Regions from separate parts of the Homo sapiens genome. Here all the other regions are linked to region 6. Evidence: promoter capture Hi-C in 16 types of primary human blood cells and fetal thymus (Javierre and others, 2016). All regions are on one chromosome and are shown on one strand. The core of a region is centred on a gene start or on the middle of the fragment in contact, and the rest is flanking DNA. Distances in the headings are between cores, read along the strand shown. Region 1 overlaps LRR1 (leucine rich repeat protein 1). Region 2 holds the start of EXOC5 (exocyst complex component 5). Region 3 overlaps DDHD1-DT (DDHD1 divergent transcript). Region 4 overlaps ARID4A (AT-rich interaction domain 4A). Region 5 holds the start of TIMM9 (translocase of inner mitochondrial membrane 9). Region 6 holds the start of FBXO33 (F-box protein 33).

The links. Contacts are between HindIII fragments. The CHiCAGO score rates a contact against its expected background, and 5 or more counts as called.
Region 1: a contact is called between a fragment that was not itself captured here and the fragment with the promoter of FBXO33 in region 6, in 1 of 17 cell types (non-activated CD4 T cells). The highest score is 5.6, in non-activated CD4 T cells.
Region 2: a contact is called between the fragment with the promoter of EXOC5 here and the fragment with the promoter of FBXO33 in region 6, in 2 of 17 cell types (non-activated CD4 T cells and total B cells). The highest score is 10.6, in non-activated CD4 T cells.
Region 3: a contact is called between a fragment that was not itself captured here and the fragment with the promoter of FBXO33 in region 6, in 1 of 17 cell types (non-activated CD4 T cells). The highest score is 5.8, in non-activated CD4 T cells.
Region 4: a contact is called between a fragment that was not itself captured here and the fragment with the promoter of FBXO33 in region 6, in 1 of 17 cell types (total B cells). The highest score is 5.5, in total B cells.
Region 5: a contact is called between the fragment with the promoter of TIMM9 here and the fragment with the promoter of FBXO33 in region 6, in 1 of 17 cell types (non-activated CD4 T cells). The highest score is 5.4, in non-activated CD4 T cells.

What each region holds. Positions count from the first base shown.
Region 1 is chr14:49,605,358-49,609,429 of GRCh38, reverse strand. It overlaps LRR1 (leucine rich repeat protein 1), which reads right to left. Exons shown (of 4, transcript NM_152329.4): 3 at 1,309-2,030. Among named protein-coding and RNA genes, the nearest start is that of LRR1, 8.5 kb to the right of the region's middle. The HindIII fragment of the contact is 276 bases long and covers 1,466-1,741 here.
Region 2 is chr14:57,266,854-57,270,515 of GRCh38, reverse strand. EXOC5 (exocyst complex component 5) reads left to right here and starts at 1,611. Exons shown (of 18, transcript NM_006544.4): 1 at 1,611-1,894. The coding sequence starts at 1,868. AP5M1 (adaptor related protein complex 5 subunit mu 1) reads right to left here and starts at 1,545. Exons shown (of 8, transcript NM_018229.4): 1 at 1,128-1,545. The coding sequence starts at 1,201. RefSeq lists enhancers at 1,381-1,580, 1,228-1,811 and a silencer at 2,121-2,180. The HindIII fragment of the contact is 4,317 bases long and covers 113-3,662 here.
Region 3 is chr14:53,155,211-53,158,755 of GRCh38, reverse strand. DDHD1-DT (DDHD1 divergent transcript) reads right to left here. Exons shown (of 3, transcript NR_110062.1): 2 at 2,183-2,513; 3 at 1,228-1,594. Among named protein-coding and RNA genes, the nearest start is that of DDHD1-DT, 3.6 kb to the right of the region's middle. The HindIII fragment of the contact is 2,163 bases long and covers 656-2,818 here.
Region 4 is chr14:58,305,905-58,309,542 of GRCh38, reverse strand. ARID4A (AT-rich interaction domain 4A) reads right to left here. Exons shown (of 24, transcript NM_002892.4): 5 at 3,431-3,521. Among named protein-coding and RNA genes, the nearest start is that of ARID4A, 9.2 kb to the right of the region's middle. The HindIII fragment of the contact is 534 bases long and covers 2,052-2,585 here.
Region 5 is chr14:58,425,881-58,430,018 of GRCh38, reverse strand. TIMM9 (translocase of inner mitochondrial membrane 9) reads left to right here and starts at 2,488. Exons shown (of 6, transcript NM_012460.4): 1 at 2,488-2,627; 2 at 2,777-2,965. KIAA0586 reads right to left here and starts at 2,300. Exons shown (of 31, transcript NM_001329943.3): 1 at 1,556-2,300; 2 at 586-656. The coding sequence starts at 1,754. RefSeq lists enhancers at 2,029-2,218, 2,289-2,338, 3,353-4,138. The HindIII fragment of the contact is 11,466 bases long and covers 1-4,138 here.
Region 6 is chr14:39,431,172-39,434,953 of GRCh38, reverse strand. FBXO33 (F-box protein 33) reads left to right here and starts at 2,521. Exons shown (of 4, transcript NM_203301.4): 1 at 2,521-3,390. The coding sequence starts at 2,792. It overlaps LOC105370461 (a long non-coding RNA gene), which reads right to left and starts at 2,515. Exons shown (of 8, transcript XR_007064121.1): 1 at 2,435-2,515. RefSeq lists silencers at 1,923-2,092, 2,833-2,962, 3,403-3,532 and an enhancer at 2,483-2,732. The HindIII fragment of the contact is 7,836 bases long and covers 1-3,782 here.

The DNA.
Region 1 (4,072 bases), core at 354-2,853, about 10 Mb before region 6:
CTGTCTCAAACAAATAAATAAAATGAAAATACAAAAATGAGCCAGGCATGGCGGTGGGCGCCTGTAATCCCAGCTACTCAGGAGGCTGAGGCAGAAGAGTTGCTTGAGTCTGGGAGGCAGAAGTTGCAGTGAGCTGAGATTGGACCACTGCACTCGAGCCTGGGCAACAGAGTGAGACCCTGTCTCAAAAAAAAAAAAAAAAAAAAAAAAAAGGGCCAGGTGTGGTGGCTCAAGCCTGTAATTCCAGCACTTTGGGAGGCCAAGACGGGCGGATCACGAGGTCAGGAGATCGAGACCATCCTGGCTAACACGGTGAAACCCCGTCTCTACTAAAAATACAAAAAAAAAATTAGCCAGGCGTGTTGGCGGGCGCCTGTAGTCCCAGCTACTCAGTAGGCTGAGGCACGAGAATGGCGTGAACCTGGAAGGCGGAGCTTGCAGTGAGCCGAGATCGCTTCGCACCACTGCACTCCAGCCTGGGCGACAGAGTGAGACTCCATCTCAAAAAAAAAAAAAAAAAAAAAAAAAAAGAGGTTAAAGTCATACAAAGTGGTGAAGCCAGGAATCAAATCCAAGTCTGACTCCAAAGACCACCCTTCATCACTATGCGAACTCTCTAATTTTAGAGTACATCAAAATCACTTGGAAGACTCACTAAGACACAGCTGGACCCCACTCTCAGTTTCTGATTCAGTAGGTCTGGAATGTTAGAACCTGCATCTCTAGGAAGTTCCTAGGTAATGCAGATCCTGCTGGTCAGGGGAGCACACTTTGAGAAACAATGCCATTCATTCATTTAACTACTTATTGAGTGCTTAATATATGCTAGGAGCAGGGTATACATGGTTTAGATCCTAGGGAAATAGTGGAGAATAAAACAACATCCATGTGCTGATGGATCTTACATTCTAGTGGGGAAAACTGACAGTAAACAAAAAAAAAAGTTTAAAAATATATATAACAGGCAATGAGTCCTATGACCAAAAAAAAAAAAAAAAAAAAAAAAAAAAAAAAAAAAAAAAATCAAGCAATGTAAGGAGGGAAGGAATAAAATTTAGATAGAATGGACAGGTAAGACCTTTCTGGGATGACACTTCGGCAGAAAACTGAATGAAGTGAGGGAGTGAGCAATGAGACTTCCTGGAGAAAAATCATTCTAAGCAGAGGTAAGGAACAAGAAGACCATTATAGCAAAGGGTCAGACTGTGCATAGCACTGTAAGCAATGTTAGACTTTATTACTCTGAGTTTGATAGGAATATTAGAATGCTATCAAAGACACCACATTACATGACTATTAAAATCTTACCTATTATGTAATATGGTTCGTGCAGAAGATTCCAATAAAGTTAATGGTGCTTGCAGCTTTATTACTGGAAGGACTTTTGGTTGTTCAAAAGTATTTCCAAAAAGATCCAAGTATTCAAGGGATAAATTTCTAAATTCACTAGGCAAAAATGGAAGCTTATTTCGAGCTGCTGACAAAAAGCGAAGGTTTATTAGTTGTCCTATCTTGCAAGGAAATTGAATCAATTCATTATCGTCAAGTTTTAAATTCTTAAGTTCCTGGAGCTGGCAAAACTGCACAGGGAGTGCCTTGATTTTGTTCTTGCTGAGGTCCAAACTCCGAAGTGACTTCTGGAGTGTAGAATGACACAAGGCTACACTAAATGACTCCAAGTGATTGTCATTCAGGTTAAGTTCTTGAAGGTGTATGAGGTCTCCAATTGTAGCTGGAAGCTTTTTTATATGGTTGTGACTCAAGTCTAATTTCCTAAGGCTTTTTAAGCAAAGCATACGCATATCAACTCGGACAAGCCCACAGTAAGAAGTCTGAAGATGTTCCAAGGAATATGGAAAATTCTTACTTAGAGGATAGTCTTTTTTGGATGTGATAACCATTTTAGTTTTAAAGTTTTCAAATTCTGAAGTCTTCACTGGTGTGAGCGTTGAAACTGGTGTATCAACATTACAGCCTCTATGAGCCAGTCTCATAGCTGAAAGGAAACCTTTTAAACTGCTGGAAATGGCCTGAATAAATAAAAGTTGTAGAATTATAAATTCCACTGGAGATAATACATACATGCTAGTTCTTCCCATAACAAATTCTATGGCATTACTTATGAATGTGATACAATGATTTACTGAAATTGACTGTAAAACTTTTTTTTAGTACTTTATTTTGACTAAATTTCAAGTTTAAAAGTTTTTGAAAAAAATTACGTGGAGGGACACATTCTAAATAAAACTGTTCAAAGGGAAGTCATGCCAACACTTTGGGAGGCTGAGGTGGGAGGATCACCTGAGCCTAGGAAGTAGAGGCTGCAGTAAGCCATGATATCACTGCCCTCCAGCCTGGGCAACAGAGTGAGACTGTCTCAAAAAAAAAAAAAAATAACAAAAATAAAGGGAAATCATAAGAGTATAAAATAAGATAGGAAATGATTGACTATTCCACTTAAGATTTGAGTTTAGGTGGGGCGCAGTGGCTCACGCCTGTAATCCCAGCACTTTGGGAGGCCGAGGCAGGTGGATCACTTGAGGTCAGGAGTTTGAGACCAGCCTGGCCAACATGGTGAAGCCCTGTTTCTACTAAAAATACAAAAATTAGCTGGGCGTGGTAGTGCATGCCTGTAATCCCAGCTACTTTGGAGGCTGAGCAAGGAGAATCGCTTGAACCCGGGAGGCGGAGGTTGCAGTGAGCCGAGATTGTGCCACTGCACTCCAGGCTGGGCAACAGAGCAAGACTCTATCTGAAAAATTAAAAAAAAAAAAAAAAAATTTGAGTTTAAGGCCAGGTGTAGTGACTCACGCCTATAATCCCATAACATTGGGAGGCCAAGGCAGGCGGATTACTTGAGGTCAGGAGTTTCAGACCAGCCTGGCCAACATGGTGAAACCCCTTCTCTACTAATAATACAAAAATTAGCTGGGCAATGTGGCGCATGCCTGTAATCCCAGCTAGTCAGGAAGCTGAGGCAGGAGAATTGCTTGAACCTGGGAGGCAGAGGTTGCAGTGAGCCGAGATCGCGCCACTGCACTCCAGCCTGGGCGACACAAGTGAAACTCGGTCTCAAAACAAAACAAAACAAACAAACAAAAAAGGCTGGGACTGGTGGCTCACGCCTATAATCCTAGCACTTTGGGAGGCCAAGGTGGGTGGATCACCTGAGGTTAGGAGTTCAAGGCCAGCTTGGCCAACATGGTGAAACCCCGTCTCTACTAAAAATATAAAAATTAGTGGGGCATGGCGGCAGGCGCCTGTAATCCCAGCTGCTTGGTAGGCTGAGGCAGGAGAGTTGCTTGAAACTGGGAGGCAGAGGTTGCAGTAAGCCAAGATCGCAAGACTGCACGGCAGCCTGGGCGACAGAGCGACTCCATATAAAAAAAAAAAAAAGAAAAAAAAAAAAGCTAATTTTTGTTGGAACATGGAAGCTATGTAGAGCAAAAGATTGGAAATACAGTATGAGGACAGATTGTAAATGAGCTCAGATGCCAACGTAAAGTGGAGGGATTTTAAGTATGAAAGTTACATGACAAGAACTAAATACTATTTTGGTAGCACTGTACACAATGAACCAGAGTAGGGAAAAGTCTGGAGAAGACCTGGGTCAACTAGGTACAATAAAGCATACTGGTTCACAGACTTGGGATTCACCCATATAACAGCTGAACTATCAAATGGAAGGCAGGTATGACAGAAAACAGCAGAGGACTGAAATAAAGCCTTTATTTTGGGGATAGAAAAAAATGTTGCTGGAAGCAAGAGACAAAGAAGTGACTAAGAAAACTGAAGGTAAACCATAGTGCCCTATCATAGATACCAAGAAAAGAAAGAGTTTTATTAAGAAAAGGGTAATTATCATTGTCAAATTCTACAGAGTGCAAAAATAATGAGAAATAATGATACTGTGATAGACAAGTGAAAAGATCAGTGATCTCTGAGACAGTGTTTTCAGTAAACCAGTAAAGGTCAAAAGATAAAAAGTGGAGACAATGAATTCAGCCTTGTCTTTCTAGAAATTTGTTTTCTTTTTTTAAAATCAGTAAGATCTCAGCTTGTTTTTAGATAG
Region 2 (3,662 bases), core at 362-2,861, about 18 Mb before region 6:
GCAAAGAAGGAATTTTTCATATCCCCATTGCCAACCAATTTTCATTTAAAATTAAAATCTTTTTTTTCTGCCTCAATCTCAATTCTACTATGGTACTACTTCACTATAAGCTTTCTTCAGGGAAGAACGAATTGTGACAAAAAAGAACTATCAATGGCCAGAGAATAAAAGGTGAAATAGACCCACTCGATTGCCACCAACATTTTACAATGAGTTACTGTACAATTCCCTTAACAGAGCTATTTTGATTACACAGGGCAAATTCTAATAGTGGGACCAGATCAACTTAACACAATATATGAAATAGTGAATACATTTTTTTGTGTTTCTATTTTCTTCAACAATTAGGAACTGTAAACTGATGATTTCTACCATTGACACATATTAACAAGATAAAAATAAAAGCCTGGGCGGGGCGCGGTGGCTCCTGCCTGTAATCCCAGCACTTTGAGAGCCAAGGCGGGCGGATCACGAGGTCAGGAGATCAAGACTATCCTGGCTAACACGGTGAAACCCCCTCTCTACCAAAAATACAAAAAATTAGCCGGGCGTGGTGGCGGGTGCCTGTAGTCCCAGCTACTCGGGAGGCTGAGGCAGGAGAACGGCATGAACCCGGGAGGCGGAGCTTGCAGTGAGCGGAGATCGCACCACTGCACTCTAGCCTGGGGAACAGAGCGAGACTCCGTCTCAAAAAAATAAAAACAAAAAAATAAAAGTCTGATATAACTTAGCATGGATTTTTCAGTAGAATAAGTTAAAATGTTCTGGAACGATTTTGTCAATGCATGTTGAAAAATCTGAAAATGTTTAGTGCTCAGTAAATTTTCTACCGTTCCCTTAGTCATCTCCATTTTAATTCTAAGCAGACGGAGGTCATTTTAAAACACAATACTAATAGAAAACATATACCGTAAATAATATGTACCAGTCATCAACTCAATTCTCACAACACTGTAAGGTAGGACTATTAAAATCTCCATTTAACAGACGAAACAGAGGTCTGTTAACTGGCTAGCCCAAGGTCACGCAGCTATTCGTGGCAAACCTGGGCCACGAAGCACCACAAAACTATGCTACTTCATCGATCTTCTGATCCATCATCCCTGAGGATTCAGATTTGCATTTACCTGGAGAATCTCACGGTGCCACAAAGTGGAGTTCCCGGTTCGTGGCTTATGAGCCACACTGCCCGCTGCGCCATGGTTAAGTCAGTAAAGCATTAGCTCATCTCATAATTAAGGTCGCCACCGAGGAACAGCGCAGACCGGCTTTCTCAGACAGACTCTTAACAGAAGCCCTGAGGCTCATCCTGCGCCGCATACCGGTCGCGCTCAGCAGAGAGGTTAGCTTTTTTAGGTGAAGTCACTAACGCTTCTGAGTCGCTCTAGGCCAACACACACCACAAAAAGTTCTAAGAACCCCAACCTATAACCTTGAGAAATTTACCTATACCCTGCAACTCCGGTATTTTCTTCCTCTAAATTCTACTTCCGGAATGGTGGCCCGCAAGGATCAAAGTTCCTCATACACGGTAGCGTCGAGCCTTTTTTCGGTTCTTTCGCCGCTCGTTTTATTCGCCGGCCCCTCCCGACAACCTCCCTGGCGCGCGCAGTTCCACTTCCGGCGTATGAGGCGGTGACAATGGGAGCAGCGCGGGCGGCGCCGGGAGGCAGCTGACAAGCGTTTGCGGCTTCGCTTCATGGCCGCTCTCCCGCCCCTCCTGGGATCTGTGGGGAGCTGGGGAGCCCGCAGCGGCCCGGAGCCGGAGCTGGCGAGCCGAGCGGAGACCTGTGCGCCGCGCCTCTGAGGCGCAGCATGTGAAGCGGAGACGGCATCCAGTGGGGGGCGAGCCTCTCAGCCGGCCGGGATGGCTACCACGGCCGAGCTCTTCGAGGTGGGCCCCGGCGGCTCTACAGGGAGTGGCAGGCCCGGGGTTTGCAGGCAGCTGGGTGGGCGGGCCGAGGAGCGGGCGTTTGCTGGCTGCCCAGGAGGAGCCCTCGGGAGAGAGGTGCGAAACAGAAGGGTTGGGGTGGCAGCTCCGTGTCAGCGCGGGCGGAGCGTGAAATGGGGGAGGGGTGCTTGGGGCCGAGGTGGGCTGGGCGGCCGGTCGGCAGAGAGGGGAAGCCGGGTGTCCCAAGGGAGGAGGGTTGCTTTTGTTTGTGGGGGCAAGAGGGAAAGTCTGGAAGGTTCGGGTGTTGGAAGATGTCTACTCCGGATGAGTAGTGGGAAGGGCTGACTCAGGACGAGGAAAGAGAGCCAGGAGCCTCAGGTTGGGCGAGTCTTGTCGCTGGGGTCCTCGCGGGAATAATAGGAGGAAGCCACTTGAGATCGGGACTCTTGGGGGCTTCTCGTTTTGAGTAATTATTCCATTAGTAAGGTTGCAGGTGGCATTCATAGGACTGCCAGTTTAACCTGACATTTGAAAAGGCTGGGACAATTTTTTTTTTTTTGGACAATAAAGGCCTACTTATCTCTTTCGACTGAAGAGAGATAGACTGAAGGGAGGCAAAATTCAAGTGAACACTTTATTTCATGTAATACATAATAATACACTCGAGGCATTTACGTGTATTATAAAATAAAAAAAGTTTATAAAATAAAACGAACACTTCGTTTCATGTATATAATGCACCTTAAGTGTATTATATGCATTTACATGTATTATAAAATCACCTAACTGCAAGCTAGAGAATCCTTAATATGTAATAGTGAGAATACTAATGTCTTTCCTCGAGCGTTTACAGTATCTAAACCTTAAAATTTAATTTCGTGAAGTCCGTTGTAAGAAGCTGTGATAAAAGTTTGAGATAATAGAATAGGAAAACTCTAATTAGGCTACAAAACAATGACACGTATAAAGCATCTCCTTGTGTGAAAGAAATGAAAACGGATAAGAAAAAGGAAAGAAAGACCCCTTTTTTGTGTGTGTGCTTGTGTTTCACATTGAGTAACAAAAGTGTAATAATTGAGAAGACTGTAATCCACAATAGGGAACTTCTCCATAAGTGAAAATGGTATCCTTTTTCTGCGTAAGATTCAGCAGTTTTTGTGGCTTACAATTTGAATGCCACAGTTTTAATAACAAATGGAAATTTACATTTGTTATTGTTACTATATTTTGCATATCAGTCAGCTTTTGGATAGATAATGCTTTTTTTGAGAGGAGTAATATATGTTATTGTTATAATAAGTTGTAATAAGACAGTAATTTGTGAATGAAGGATTGTAATTACAAGAAAGACTTCAGAGATATTGTATTTTCTCACTTAAGTGTTGGGAGATATGCTACATTAATTTCTGTAATTCCAAAATTGTGCCATCTGTTTATTGACACAAGAACGGGGAGACATTTTTCCTGCTAGGAACTTTTACTGTGTCCCTAGGTACTAAGTAGTGCTGTGGTTCCTTGTTTTATTTTTCACATCTTAAAAAGGGAGAAAACGATGAAGTTGTATGAGATCTTTAATTAAGGTATTTGCCGGCAAGCCAGCTCTTAACTGAAAACTGTTATATATGTTGTCATACAGTTCATAAGACATTATCCTTTGAGTTAATCCTGCTTGACAGTTCCAGTTGTACCTTGGACCATCTTATGTATATTTTTATTTAAATGTTTGACCACATGATTTCAGTAACTTATTTGGAAATATGTTTGATTTTTT
Region 3 (3,545 bases), core at 488-2,987, about 14 Mb before region 6:
GCTTTTCTACCATGCCATTTACATTTATTAATGGTATTATCCTAATGGCTATCTAGTATGGTTCAAGTAACCCAATGGGAGACCCACAAAAAGAATTTGGGAGCTTGTGAGTCTAGAATCATATATATGTATATATAATGATTATTATATGTATGATTATTATATATATATATATATTTTTTTTTTTTTTGAGATGGAGTTTCGCTCTTGTTGCCCAGGCTGGAGTGCAGTAGCATGATCTCGGCTCACTGCAACCTCTGCCTCCTGGGTTCATGTGATTCTCCTGCCTCAGTCTCCCGAGCAGCTGGGATTACAAGCACGCACCACCGCGACCAGTTAATTTTGTATTTTTAGTAGAGATGGGGTTTCACCATGTTGGGCAGGCTGGTCTCGAACTCCTGACCTTGTGATCCACCCGCCTTGGCCTCCCAAAGTGCTGGGATTACAGGCGTGAGCCACCGTACCCGGCCTAGAATCATATTTTATTCAAGCTGAAACTTTAAATGAGTTGCTGACTTATGATGTAAGGATAAACATACTTTTTTAAGCAGCAGTTGCAAAAACAGTAAATCAATTCTGCTGTTCAGTCTTTTAAATGCTCAGCAAATTACTGACAGTTACATTAGTGGAAATAAATCCTTATTGGAACAAAGCTTCTCTTTTCTTTCCTTTTTAACTTATATATGACAATACACATACGCAAGGTGCTGCCTCTAAGTCTTGCTCAGCACCATATTATGATTATCAATTACTTTTTATTGAAGGCTCATATGAGTCTGTGAACAAATATGTACTTTCAACTTACCTGTGGAGGTAGGAAAAAATCCTAGAGCGCAGAAGTCATTAAATACATCTACAATGGGTGCATAATGTGGGCCTCACAGCAGCCAATAGCTATGGCCCAACTCACTTTTCTATAATGAAAGGGCAGGAAGATGGCCAAATCTGTCTGATATAAACAAGCTGATGAGGATTTTGTGGCTGCCTCCACAGAGTATGCATCAATGTTGTATTGATTTATACTTTCTTTCATTTGAATATATACCTTCACCACCACTGACCTTTATTTCCAAAAGGAATAGAAAACATTTTTATAGGGTTTTGGTAAGTATGGTTTTGTGGATAGGCCTCTTATAAATCTTTAAATAAATGCATTTCATAATTCTAAATTTTAAGTGTAATTTCAGTTAAAAATAAAAACACAATAGCACTAGACAATAAATATTTGTTGAATGAATAAATGGAAGGATTAATGACTTTATTCATCATGAATCCCTACGTTATTTCTGCCCACCTTGCTTCCTTTGGATTGTAATTTGATTTTGTTTATTGATCTGTCTGTAGGGAGAGAATGACCCCATGGTAGTGATGCAGCTATAGTGGCATTACAATTATATTCCTCATAGGAATTTAAAAGTTAGCATTTTGGTTTTATTTATAGACACCACTAGACTGTGAATGCTTCACTGTAGAGCCTAGCACAGTGCCTGAAATGTCCAGCGAATGTTCCCTGCTTCAGTCTAGGTTGTTGTTTCATTTGGTCAGGGCATCAGATAAAACACTCTCATCTTTAAAAACCAGATAAGTAGTAATCCTAAAAATAAAAAGTGAAATAAAATTTAAGTTGTGGTGGATGGCTTATCGAACACGAGATACAGCAGATGGGGGCATGGTTATGTCTGCCCTCTTTCTTTCATTCTAAATAGGGGTCTTCCATCATACACTTTGGATGAAGCTATTTCAAGTGCAGGTGTGGGATGTTGGCTCAGGATAAATTACTTGGCATCAAGCATTCCCTAATGTTACAAACGTGAAGACAGGTTAAAATGAACAACATGGTGGCTTGTGCCTGTAATACTAGCTACTGGGGAGGCTGCAGCAGGAGGATTACTTGAGGCCAGGAGTTCAAGGCTGCAGTGAGCTAGGATTGGCCTACTATACTTCACCCGGGCAACAGCAAGACCCTATCTCTAAAATAATAAAATGAATAACAGGGACAAACTTTAAGAAAAGAAGAAAAGGGAAAGACAGCACACAATTGCACGAAAACATCTTTGAGACGCGGGAGGAGATGGCCGTTGTTACCAGATAGCTCTTGCCATATGCCTAATGGGGACAGGAAGGTGGTAGGATACACAGACGAGCTGTTTTAGTCTTTTGTAGTACAAACCAACTGGCTTACCTTTTTTTTTTTCTGCACACCAATAACTCCGTCAGGCTTGATTCCACATGCACCTGTTTCTTGCGGCAGCATGGCCCAGTAATGCCAGAAGTCTGAATCAATCACACTTATTTGCCTTATGTGAAAGAGGCCTTGTCTTGCGTAATTATTAAAATACAATGGAATGCTTTACATAGAGCCATGGAAGTTCAGATAATGCTGTGTCCATTGTACACACTAATGATGTAGAGTGGTGAGGAGCCACCTGACACCTATTCTGGCAGGTGGGGACTAGAATAGATGCCCCAACCCATCTCCCTCTGGTCAGGATCATATTACCTGAGAAGATGATCTAGAAAACAAAAGGAGAGCAGGAACAGGAGGCATTAGATAAAACATGACTTTTTAAAGCAGAAAAGTTGAGAAAAACAACATCATGACCTTTGCCTTGCTATGATGGCTAGGGAGTAAAAAGGAAATAAACACATGCAGTCACATGAAGTTAGATATTGTGCTCTCAAATATCTTCTGAGCACTGTCAGCCTGGGACCCAGTATATGGGTCTGCCATAGCCCAAGCTCACTTCCAAGGGGCAGAAGCAATCTCAGCCCACAAATGTTGATTGACATCTCCCCTCAACAAGGTCTAGACCAAGCTTGCCCAACCTGCAGCCCATGGGCCATATGCAGCCCAGGATGGCTTTGAATGTGGCCCAACACAAATTCATAAACTTTCTTAAAACAGTACGAGATTTTTTCGTGATTTTTTAAGCTCATCAGCTATCATCAGTGTTAGTGTATTTTATGTGTGACCCAAGACAATTCTTCTTCTTCCGATGTGGCCCAGGAAAGCCAAAAGATTACACACACCTGGCTCTAGACCAAGATAACCAGGTCAGCAGAGAATCTAGGATTCCCTTCTTCTGCCACCTGGGTTGTGTTGAGAATCAACATTTCCTTCAAAAATGATCACTCTACCTAAAAGGAGTGTGGCATTTCCCCAGTGAACCACAAGAGGATAATCTTCTCAAAATAACCAAATAAGCACACTTAAAAGTAATAGAAACATTCATTCAATGCAAAGCAGAAAGTACTTTTTTTTTTTTTCCAAGACGGAGTCTCGCTCTGTAGCCCAGGCTGGAGTGCAGTGGCGTGATCTCGGCTCACTACAAGCTCCGCCTCCCGGGTTCACGCCATTCTCCTGCCTCAGCCTCCCGAGTGGCTGGGACTACAGGTGCCCGCCACCACGTCCAGCTAATTTTTTGTATTTTTTTTTAGTAGAGACAGGATTTCACCATGTTAGCCAGGATGGTCTCGATCTCCTGACCTCGTGATCTGCCCGCCTTGGCCTCCCAAAATGCGGGGATTACAGGCGTGAGCCACCG
Region 4 (3,638 bases), core at 1,069-3,568, about 19 Mb before region 6:
CTTTTTTAAAAAACATAACTAGAGATTTGGGCTGGATAGAGGTATGAATTCTAATCCCAATTTTAACACCTTTTGAATGACTGAACAGATAACACACTTCCACATATTACAGATTCCTTATCTTTAATGGCAAGGATAACAACTATCAATGAGTAAACTATGGTAGGAATGGTAGGAAGAGGAAATATTTCTATTGCTCAAAAAACAGAAACAAAAAAATCCCCTTGAGTTGGTGCTGTTTACTATTCAACATTAAAGGGGAAGCTGAGAGCAGTGGCTCATGCCTGTAATCCCAACACTTTGGGAGGCTAAGGCGGTAAGACTGCTTGAGCCCAGGAATTCAGGGCTGCAGGAAGCTACAATAGTGCTACTGAACAAAAGCCTGGGCAACAGAGCAAGATCCTGTCTCTAAAACGAACAAACAAACAAGAAATAAACCATTAGAGGGTAAGATATTACCAGATTTTTTAAAAACTGAGTCATACTATATCCATAATCTCTTTCAAAATTGGTTAATCATGTTTAACAGAAGGGAAATTGATACCTGTATTATGCAAGAAGAAGTTAATATCACTGACTCTAATGATAACTTTAGATCACTAATGATCATAACTCCTATTTGATCCAAACCAGCAATGTGGTATCCTCTTGTTTTATTTTTAATAATCTGACATAATTTCTGGTATCTCATGAAACCAAAAAAGGTAACACACGTCATAAACACTCTGAATAATTTTCTGACTATACCCATGTAATACTTTGCTAGGAACTAGAAATCAAAAAAAATTCCAGAAAAGAGCAATTACACCTAATAGGTAGGTAGTAGGTACTCACTGAAAGAAAAATACAGGATGTTCATGACCCAAGAGGTTTTACATTTCATTGTACTGTTTTTTTTAAACCAACTGGTAACTCAGGTCATTATACTCTGATCATTCTTTATGTGATCCACTTCCTTCAATATCTAAACGTTCTTTAGAGCAGTGCTATCTTGAGTTTTCTGAATGGAACAGTGCCTTTCAAAATCTTTTTATGAATTTCCTTCATGCACGTAAGTGCAAAAATCTTTAATATTTTGAATTTTTCTCCCAAATAAATCTGTTTTTCCCTGTTTTTATAAGTGTGAACTACCTGCATCAGAATCACTGACATGCTTATTAAAACATTCTTGTACTGCCATCCCCAGGCCTACTAATTGGAGAGGCTTGGGGTCCTCAAATCCTCATTTTTCTAAGCAAGCACCAAGTGATTCTTATGTCCACTAATGCTTGATACCTCAATTATATGCAATTAAGATTCTAAAGCTCTTTGAGAACAAGAATTATACAATTTCTTCTGTAATTATCCAACACAGAAAATCACCATAGAGAATGCTTAGCAGTGACTAGTTTTTAGAAACACTAAAACGCTACTCATGTAGAGGACAAAGGTTGCTATTCATAATTGAATAACTACTCTGGGATAAAGAAACCCAAAATGAGAAAACCTGAAAAGTAATCCTTCTATAGAGCATGCGCATTTTATCAGTAAAGCTTCAAAGTGAGTACAACCTTTATAGTGAGTTAAAATATAAGGTGCAATATAAATATCTGAATATGCATCATATATTTTCCGGTGATTCTACACACACCTGTAATTTTTATCAGGTCTTAGTTTGATAAAGCAAAGATGTATTTACTTAATCTCTAAGAGTTAACATTAAGCTTAGTTTTTATTTGTTTTGAGACGCAGTTTTGCTCTTGTTGCCCAGGCTGGAGTGCAATGGCACAATCTAGGCTTACTGCAACCTCCGCCTCCCAGATTCAAGCGATTCTCCTGCCTCAGCCTACTGAGTAGCTGGGATTACAGACGCCCACCACCACACCCAGCTAATTTTTGTATTTTTAGTAGAGACAAGGTTTCGCCATGTTGGCCAGGCTGGTCTTGAACTCTTGACCTCAGGTGATCCGCCCACCTCGCCCCCCTAAAGTGCTGGGATTACAGGTTAGAGCCACTGCATCTGGCCACTTAGTTTTTAAAATTTAACAACTATCAGTAGCCACAACTAAGCTTCCTAAAAATATGTAGTTCAGAATAATAGCACCACTGTGAACCAACACTAAATTCTAGTAAGTCCAAGAAGCATCAAAGAGGTTTGAAAAAAGTACTTACACACAGCAAATTGGTACTACTAATAGAAGGTACAGGGTAAGACAGAGAAATTTTTAACCAAAGCATAGTTCTTCACAACACTGAGCATCAACTGGATGTGAATGATTTTTACCCAAAGCAACAAATCAAGTAAACTAAAAGTAAACCTAAATGGTCATTCTTTTATTTCTACAAGAAAACCACAAAATAATTATACCACTTAAACCAAGAAATAAGTATAAAAACCAACAATGCTATAGATTGGATGTTATCCACAGGATTGTGCAGTTTGAAAGTACTGAGAGGAGATTTGGAAATGTTACTTAATGCTATTCTCATCAACATAATGACAGCAACTATTTAAGTACTACTTTAAGGTTTTAACTTACAAGTATTATGACACTTGTTGCTTCTCACTATTAATACAATAAAGTTATCTAAAGCCAGTATAAGCTTATGCATGGAATGTTAAGAATGCATTCATGCATTCATATTAGGAGCATCTATATTTTTCTTAAAAGCTGTTTTCTTTTTGAGACCAAATCTCACTCTGTCGCCCAGGCTGGAGTGCAGTGGCATGATCTGGGCTCATTGCAACCTCCGCCTCCCAGGTTCAAGCGATTCTCCTGCCTCAGCCTCCAGAGTAGCTGGGATTACAGGCATGCACCACTAATACCAGGCTAATTTGTGTATTTTCAGTAGAGACGGGGTTTCACCATGTTGGCCAGGCTGGTCTCGAACTTCTGACCTCAAGTGATCCACCCGCCTCAGCTTTCCAAAATGCTAGGATTACAGGCATGAGCCAACATGCCCGACCTTGAAAGCTGTTAATATGAGCACCCACACTGTATCAAAAATCAAAAACTAAGTTAACAATCACCTATTCTTGAATCTACCATGGTCAGGATTTTTTAAATCTGTAAATTGTCTGGCAACATCTACATTACCCTTGTATAAAATATGTAGCAATACAGTAACGATCGCAACTATGCAATTTTAATTGTAATTATAGAAAAAGTGATCACAATCATGTGATCTAACTTTCTTGAAAAGAAACATCAAAGTAACCTAAAATAGAAGTACATTTTTGGATGAAATAGACAAAAGTGGCCAACTTACTGTAAGAGATAATTATTTTTGTTACCTACAGGGCATTCTTAGAATTTTAGTCAGCTATATCCAGTAAACTGACAGGAAATAATATATATTTCTCCACCAACACAATGATTCAGTGTATCCACAAAACACAGATACATGCAACCTCCAAATCAAATCTGTGTTAAATTACTTAATTACTTACCCACGGTATACCAACTAGCATCTGTCAACTTGCTGATAATAGCTTCCTGAAAAGATCCATCAGATGTCCTTGTTTCAACAATAGCTCCAACCTAAAATGTGAAATCCCAATTTCCTTACCAAATTTAAACAAATAAACCAAATCACTCCCACCAACTATATAATCTAGCTAAGAAAAATAAACACCATACTTATGATAATTCTATCTT
Region 5 (4,138 bases), core at 1,239-3,738, about 19 Mb before region 6:
CATATTGTGAAACTCTCATTATACAGACTTATTAAACTGACAATACATAGGTCAACACTATGATTAGCCGTCAAAGTCTGATTAGATCTCATAACCAAAACATTGTATTTATCAAATACTTTCGGCATTATAAAGTTAAGATGATAATTTCATGTTATTCTTAAAGAACCTCCCTTCTAAGAAAACCAAAACCATTCTCACAAGTGTTAGAATGACATGCAAGCACACCTCACATTAAAGAAAAATTGTACTGTTAGTTGTTCCTTTTCTTTTACCTAAGAACATGTTAAGTCTCTGGGCAAGAACACCTTTTCCCTGAATAGTAAGAGAGTTTCTTTTCAGTTATCCTATCTCTTTCAGCGGCCATTATCTTACTAATAGGTATTTTTGATTCTAGGGAAGGCCTTTTGTTTAATGTCTCAAACACCATTCAAAGTCACAATTGTAGTATATAAAACATTTGTTTTGGTAAGTGATATTTAAATAAAAACAAGGCATGCTGCTAATCAAACATAATTTAAGAATGCATTATTTGACAATACTGAAAATTTTAACGTGAGCATAATTAAGAATCCTTTTGCTTACACTTTCTGACACCATGGGATTTTCTAATAGAGGCTGGTAACAATTTCTAGCAGAAGTTAAGTCTGATGAACCTAACAAAACAAAGGAATAGATTTTAGTGATTTTAAAATCAGATCCTTAGCTTTAGAAACTGTATATGCATGATTCAAGATCTATAAACTCCATATAACGCAGAAGTTGGAAAGACAATTTGCATGCAAAAAAAGTTAAGAAAATGTATTTAAACATATCTGAATGAAAGTTTTTACAGTTGATATTTGGGAAAATAAGGTTCGGTACTGACAATAAAGTGAGATTAAGCACGAAACATTTTAAAATATAACCATACACTATTGGATGTGGACAAACTATGGGTAGAAATATGTATACGATGTAAAGGTCTAATTTAACAGCAGTACTATTTGAGTGTCACCGCTGTATCCCCCAAAGAACAGCATTACAAAAGCGTTTTGCTGTTTTTGCTCACATATTCATTAATTTAATCCTCACAATTAGCAGCGAAGTGGGTAAAGCATATGTTATCCTTATTTTCACTGAGCTCTAGACAGATTAAGTGAATTGGAATATAGAAGCCATCAATTGGCAGAAGTCCTGCTTTTCCCACTATGAAAAGAAAGTAGTGAATTAGGTAAAAAGCACTACTTTGGGGGAAAACTATAAAAAACACTACGTGGGGGAAAATAAAGCACATTATACAAGTTAAGTGTATCCACCATAAATATAAAAAAAAAAATATGCAAAAGTCAATGCAAAAAAAAAAAAAAAAAGCACAACAGGGGACGTTAAAGTTTCATTCATTCCATCTATTCAAACATTTTATAGGCTTCCTGGCCATTTTCCCGGGAAACAGGGTCAGTTTTCAAACATCTGTACAAACTAGACTTATATCTTACGTTTGGGAATTTAAACAAATAAGGACTAAAGATTTACTAAACTAAAACTGGTTGAAAAACTACATGGAATCACATACCACGTGATGTTCCATTCAAACTAGTCCCCGTTCCAACAGGAAGACGTTTATTTGCAGACAATGCCGGAGGAACACAGGGCAACTCATCTTTCAGCAAAACCAAATGATCTCCATGATTTTGAGAAACTACCTCACGAAGTCTCTTCACTGGCATCTTAATCTTTTTTTTCTTCTCCAAGCTGACCTCAGAGCCTTTCATATTGTTGGTCACAAAACAAGTCCCACACTTAAGGACGGAAAAACTTTCTCTGTTTCCTTAAGACTTCAGAACAAAATTTTCACCTCTTTGCAATAACTGTTTTTAAAATGTCGAACATCCACAAAGCTGAAAATCTAAATTCTGATATTGAATCCAGGATTAGAGCTGACTATAAAGTCATATTTACCCATTAATCCCACTCAGTCTATTAATACACCACGCCAAAATGTGAAAGTGGGGATGACAAGAGAATGGCCACAGGAGCAACAATAACCATAACAGTGCACTCCCCAACCCCAGAGCTGGTAGGGCAAAACCAAACACATGTAGTGGCGGGCTTAAAATTTGTTGAGAAGAGGCAGTCAAGCAAATAAAAGCGAAATGCTATTTTTAAAATAATGACCCACATAAGAAGCGTAATAGCTTTCTTCAGCCACAGAGTCTTACACACCCCTCCAGATGCAATCGTCGGAAACATAAATTCACCCCTACGTATCTCCAGAACGCCCGAGACCCGCACCGTCGTGGGTGTAATCTGACAACAGCGTCAGTTGCCCGCAGGTCAACACCCACTTCCCTTCAAACCCGCCCTTGAGACACAACACGCATGCGCGCCAAGAAACTCACCCAAAACATCCAACCAGAAAGCTAAGCGCTCTCTGGTGCTCTTCCATTCCTCTCCGGGTGGAAACAAACTCCGGACATAACAGGGGTTTATTTATTTATTTATTTTAAGGTAGCACATTGCCGCACAAGACCGCTCTACAGTCTCATCCAAGACTTGAAGAGCTCCCGACTTGTAATACTACTTGTGTTTACCAGGGACTGTTGACACTGCTTCGCTTCCGAAGACCGTTAGGGACGTGGGATTAGGTAAATTAGGCTTCCAAGAAGTTTCGACAGATTCGGGTCATTATTGGAGAGGAAGTCGGGAATAGAAAGCGTTGTCTAAGCAGAAAATAACCGAAGTTAATCCTTAGGAGATTTTAGAATTCGCTGATGGTACCTGCTTTTTCTTCTAGATTTCCTCGCGTTATAACGAATCGGCGTCTAAGGGTTTAAGTGTCACTTGACATTACTGCTCCCACGTGTTCTTTCCCATCTGGCGGCCGCGGCTCCTGTCCAGACCCTGACCCTCCCTCCCAAGGCTCAACCGTCCCCCAACAACCCCCAGCCTTGTACTGATGTCGGATGCGAGAGCCTGTGCTTAAGTATGGTGTCTGTTCTCTGCCGTGAGAATCCGGGGTTCCCGGACGGGGGGTGGCAGGCTACGCTCCAGGAAAGTGGCGGGGTCTCCCGAGGAGGCCGCCGCACGTACCTGGAGCAGTGGGGGGTGCGAAGCGGGACAGCGCTTCGCCGGGTCGGGTGCAGACCTTCCTGGAGATGGTGTCACCTGGGCGAGGGTAGGAACTTTAGGCCCTGAGCCACCCCCAACCCGGATCTGGGGAGTCGGGGTCCTGTTTTGGGACACTGAATTAGACTATAAGGTATTTACGATGTGACCTTGAGCTGCCCGGGGGAAGATCCTCCTTTAAATGAAAATCGTCTTTAGACATAATACCAGGTCTAACACCCCTTCCCTGATCTGCTCATTTCCCAGGATGCGCTACTTAGAGCTTTCCCTTTACGCCTTACTGGAGGCTTTAGAATAATCAAAGCAGAAAATGTAATCCGATCTAAAAGCTAAATAACTAATTTTATTTCTTTTACATCTCGGCAGTCTACCTTCATAGAAGTCTAGACTTAAAATGGACTTTAAAGTCTGAGCGCGGTGGCTCACGCCTGTAATCCCAGCACTTTGGGAGGCCAAGGCGGGCGGATCACGAGATCAGGAGTTCGAGACCAGCCTGGCCAGCAAGGTGAAACCCCGCCTCTACTGAAAATACAAAAAATTAACTGGGCATGGTGGCGCGCGCCTGTAGTCCCAGCTACTCAGGAGGCTGAGGCAAGAGAATTGCTTGAACCCGGCAGGTGGAGGTTGCAGTGAGCTGAGATCGCGCCATTGTGCTCCAGCCTGAGTGACAGATCAAGACTGTCTTAAAAAAAAAAGAAAAAAAAAGACTTTAAGGGCTCAGCGTTAAAGACCCTTTTAATTATTATTTTTTTGTAACTTGCTGAGTTTCTCTAATGAGTTTTGTGTTGTTTTTTGAGACAAAGTCTCACTCTGTGGCACAGGCTGGAGTGCAGTGGCGCGATCTTGGCTCACTGCAACCTCCGCCTCCCAGGTTCAAGCGATTCTTCTGCCTCAGGCCTCCTGAGTAGCTGGATTACAGGCGCCCGCCACCACGCCCAGCTAATTTTTTTTGTATTTTTATTAGAGACGGGGTTTCACCATGTTGGCCAGGTTGGTCTCGAACTCCTGACTTGATTCACCCGCCTCGGCC
Region 6 (3,782 bases), core at 1,272-3,771:
TAAAAGTTATATTTAACCCAAAGAAAGTTGCCAAACTTAAGCAAAAATGGAAAGAAAGCTATAGTAAGATATATTTAATACCCCAATTACCTAACTAGGAAAAACACTAAACTTAGCATGTTAGAAAAGGAGAAATATAAAAATATTAAGTGCTTAATTTATCTCTAAAAGAATTAACCATGAGTATAACAAGAAAAACAGAACAGACCATTGACTATCAACAGGCAGGCATATCAATCCACCAGAGCAGATACCTACCTTAATATTATAGTCCTATCCACCATTCGTTGCCTGGGTTTCAAATCCAAATAAGCATGGTGGTTGCTATAGTGACAATATGCCACTTTTGGAACCTGGAGCTTAGTACTACTAGGTACTTATGAGCTTCATAACGTCAGTACTTCCTCCCACACTCTGAATCATAGCTCAGATTTTATAACTTCACAAAATGTAATTCCATTCTGTCCTATATGAGTCAATTTTATTTTAGCAGTATAGAATATATGTCAAAAGAATCTAACTCACTTAACATGCTAAATATACATACTCAATATACATTTAATTAATAGTAAATATATTGGCCTGATAAGATAAATTTTGTGCAACCATTGGAATTCACTGATTTATTATTGAAACTGGGCAAGATTCACAGCTAATTCTTTAGCTTACAGTTGTTAAAATAGGATTCCTACCACACTTCATTTAAGAAGAAAGTTTGAAATTCTAAAATAATGAATTTCATTTATGGCAGACTGACATATTTTCATTTTACTCAGGAACCATTCCTAATAATTAAAGACTAATTATTAATGATCTCCAAGATGGTAGCTTGTTGCTAGCAAAATGCTAAGAAAAAAATATCAATCTCAAATTACAGTGCATTTCTAGAATATTAAAAAAAAAAAAGTCAGAGAACTGGAAACCCTCATACATGGCTGGTGGGAATGAAAAATGATGCAGCCACTTTGGAAAAAGTTTCCGTTTCTCAAAAAGTTATACATAGAACTACCCTACGACCCATCACTTTCATTCCTAGGTATCTACCCAAGACAAATTAAAACATACGTCCACATAAAGACTTGCACATGAATGTTCACAGCATTATTCATAACTCGAAACGACCTAAATGTCTGTAAACTGGTAAATGGGTAGTGTTTCATCCTGCCGAACCCACGACTGGGGTCGCCCTCTAAGAGTTCATTAAAATTAATAAGGTATAATTACCTAAAACTCTTGTAAACAGGGGCTCGAATAAGTAACCTATCACAATTGATAAACCACACCATGTTGTTGGCAACCTGATATGTGCAAGGCATTAAACGGAGAGCTTTGCCCTCAAAGGGTTAAGAACATCTAGAATGGGGGTCTCCTCTTTCGTCTTGGGAGCCCCCTCCGTCTGTCTCTGTAGTGGGGAGCTTCTTCCTTCAGCCTTCTTCCTTCTTTCTTGCCTATTAAATTCTCCGCTCCTTAAAACCAAAAAAAAAAAAAAAAGTCCAAAAAGTCTTGGTGTTTACCACAAAAGAACGATGCTATTCCAACATCACAGCCTCCCTAAAGCAACTCTCAATTATTACATAAAGAGGCAGCCTCCCTAAAGCAACCCTCGATTATTACATAAAGTCACTTAATCTTTTCTGACTTCACCACTCTTTGCAACCAGAGTTTACTTTGCAGTAGGCTGTGGTGAAGTTAGGGACATGGTTTGGAAAATCTAAGTTAGGGATACCAGGCAAAAAAAGAAGAAGAAGAAAGAAAAAAAATCAAAGCTCTGTCATTACTGTGAACTTTTCAACGAGAGCCTTAAATCTCAGCACAGGGAAAAGAGACCCTTCCTCAAGCCCTGGAGAAGAGGCTGGTCACAACCTGCGGATCTCAGATCCCTTTGCCAATTTTTTTCTCTCCCTCTGAATCCAAAGGGTGACGCTGTCCTCACTGCTTCCCCACACACCAGCGAGTGCGCGGAAGTCCACCTGCGTGGTTGGACCGAGGGGGCAGGTCCATTCGCGGCCTCCGCCACGCCCCACACCGCCCCTCCCGGCACAGCCCGCCGGGGTTAGCCCGCCCGTCCGCCAGCTCCCTCTCAGCGGCGCAATCTCAGGAATTCTTAACCCTACTCTGGGCAGGTGGGATGGCTGAGAAAGACCCTGCATGCCGCCACTTTGGCTCAGGGTCCTCAGCCCAAACTGAGAAACGTTTTACAAAGAAGCGTGACGACCTTTCGCACTAAACCAGAGTACCGCCACCTCCATCGACCGAGCGCCAAAATTAACCGACTTACAGATGTGACTGGGCGCAGCGGCCACCGTAAGGCGTAAGGGGTGCCAAGTGCCGGTTCCAGTCCCGCCCAGCCCCGCCCCGCCCCGCCCCGCCCAGCCCCGCCCCGCCCCGCGGCCTGCGTGCGTCAGAGATCACGTGCCGCGCCTCCCGTCCCTACAGGCAATCGGGCGCTCCCCTCTTCCGGAAGTCGCGCCGGTGCGCGCCGGACTCCTCCCACCAGCGGCGACGTCAAACTCAGCTCCTACCACTTCTCTGTCTCTGCCGACCGGCGCAGGGAGGGCTGCCTTTTCCTTACAGTACGCCTTGAGGCTTCCGGGCCGCTGAAGTTTACGAGCGAGGGCAGTGCAGTTACTCAGTGTGCCGGCCTCGGACGCACGTGAGTAGAGTTTGAGAAGACAGAGGCTGGCTCCCGGCAGGCCACGCCCGCAGAGGCCTTTCCCCCTCTCCACAACTTGTGTTCTACTTGGTTCCGCCGAGACCCACGACGGTTCCGCCCCCTTCTTCCTAGTCATTGATGTTGTTGTTCTTGTCAGTGCCGCAGCCCCGACCGCCGGGAGCTCGAACCCGAGCCGGGGCCGCCCGGGTGGCGCGGTGGCGGCGGCTGCGGCTGCAGCAGCTGCGACGGCTGCGGGGGCTGCTCCGGGTACTGCGGGGGCGGCCGGGAGCCGGCAGCCGGCGGCGGGGCCGGATGGCTCTGTGCGGGCAGGCGGCGGGCGCTGCGTCGCTGCCCAGCGAGCTGATCGTGCACATCTTCTCTTTTCTGCCGGCGCCCGACCGGCTGCGGGCCTCGGCCTCCTGCTCGCACTGGCGTGAGTGCCTCTTCTATCCGGCCCTGTGGCCCCAGCTCCGCATCTGCCTCCGCGTCTCGCCCGCGGAGCAGCCTCGGCTGGAATTCCTCATGCGCAAGTGCGGCTGGTTCGTGCGAGAGCTGCGTGTTGAATTCGCCGCCGAGAACTATCTGAGCGGCGGTGGCCCAGGGGACGGAGGTGGCGCGGACACCGGGACTGGAGGGGAGGAAGTCGAGGCCCTGCAGCTCTCAGCTCGTTGGCTGGAAGTGCTGCGCACCTACTTGGAGCTGGTGCTTTGCGTGCTGGTCAGCATCCGGAACAACAGGTAGGCTTGCCCTGAGCCCCGCCCCGCCCGGTAACGGGGGGTCGCTCCGTCCCCGCACCCCGACACAGATTCTGTGCATAATACGTGCCCGGCCAACTTCAGTGTTGCCTTCCTCAGTGACGGAGAGTGTTGGTTCTAACTAGGCGGTTTCCTTGAGCGGAAAGGCATAACGGGACTCATCACGATACTTTATAAACAGTGGTGGACGGGGTGTTTAACAGACACCACTTCTGGCGCCTTCCAGGCACTCATTCATCCTCTTGGTGGCCGTGGGATGGAGCTGACAGGCGCTGTCACTTTTCATTTTATATATGGGAGCGTTAAGACTGGGAGGGTGAGGCCTGTGGGTGAGCCTTGGAAGAAACAAAACATACACATAACACGATTTTCTG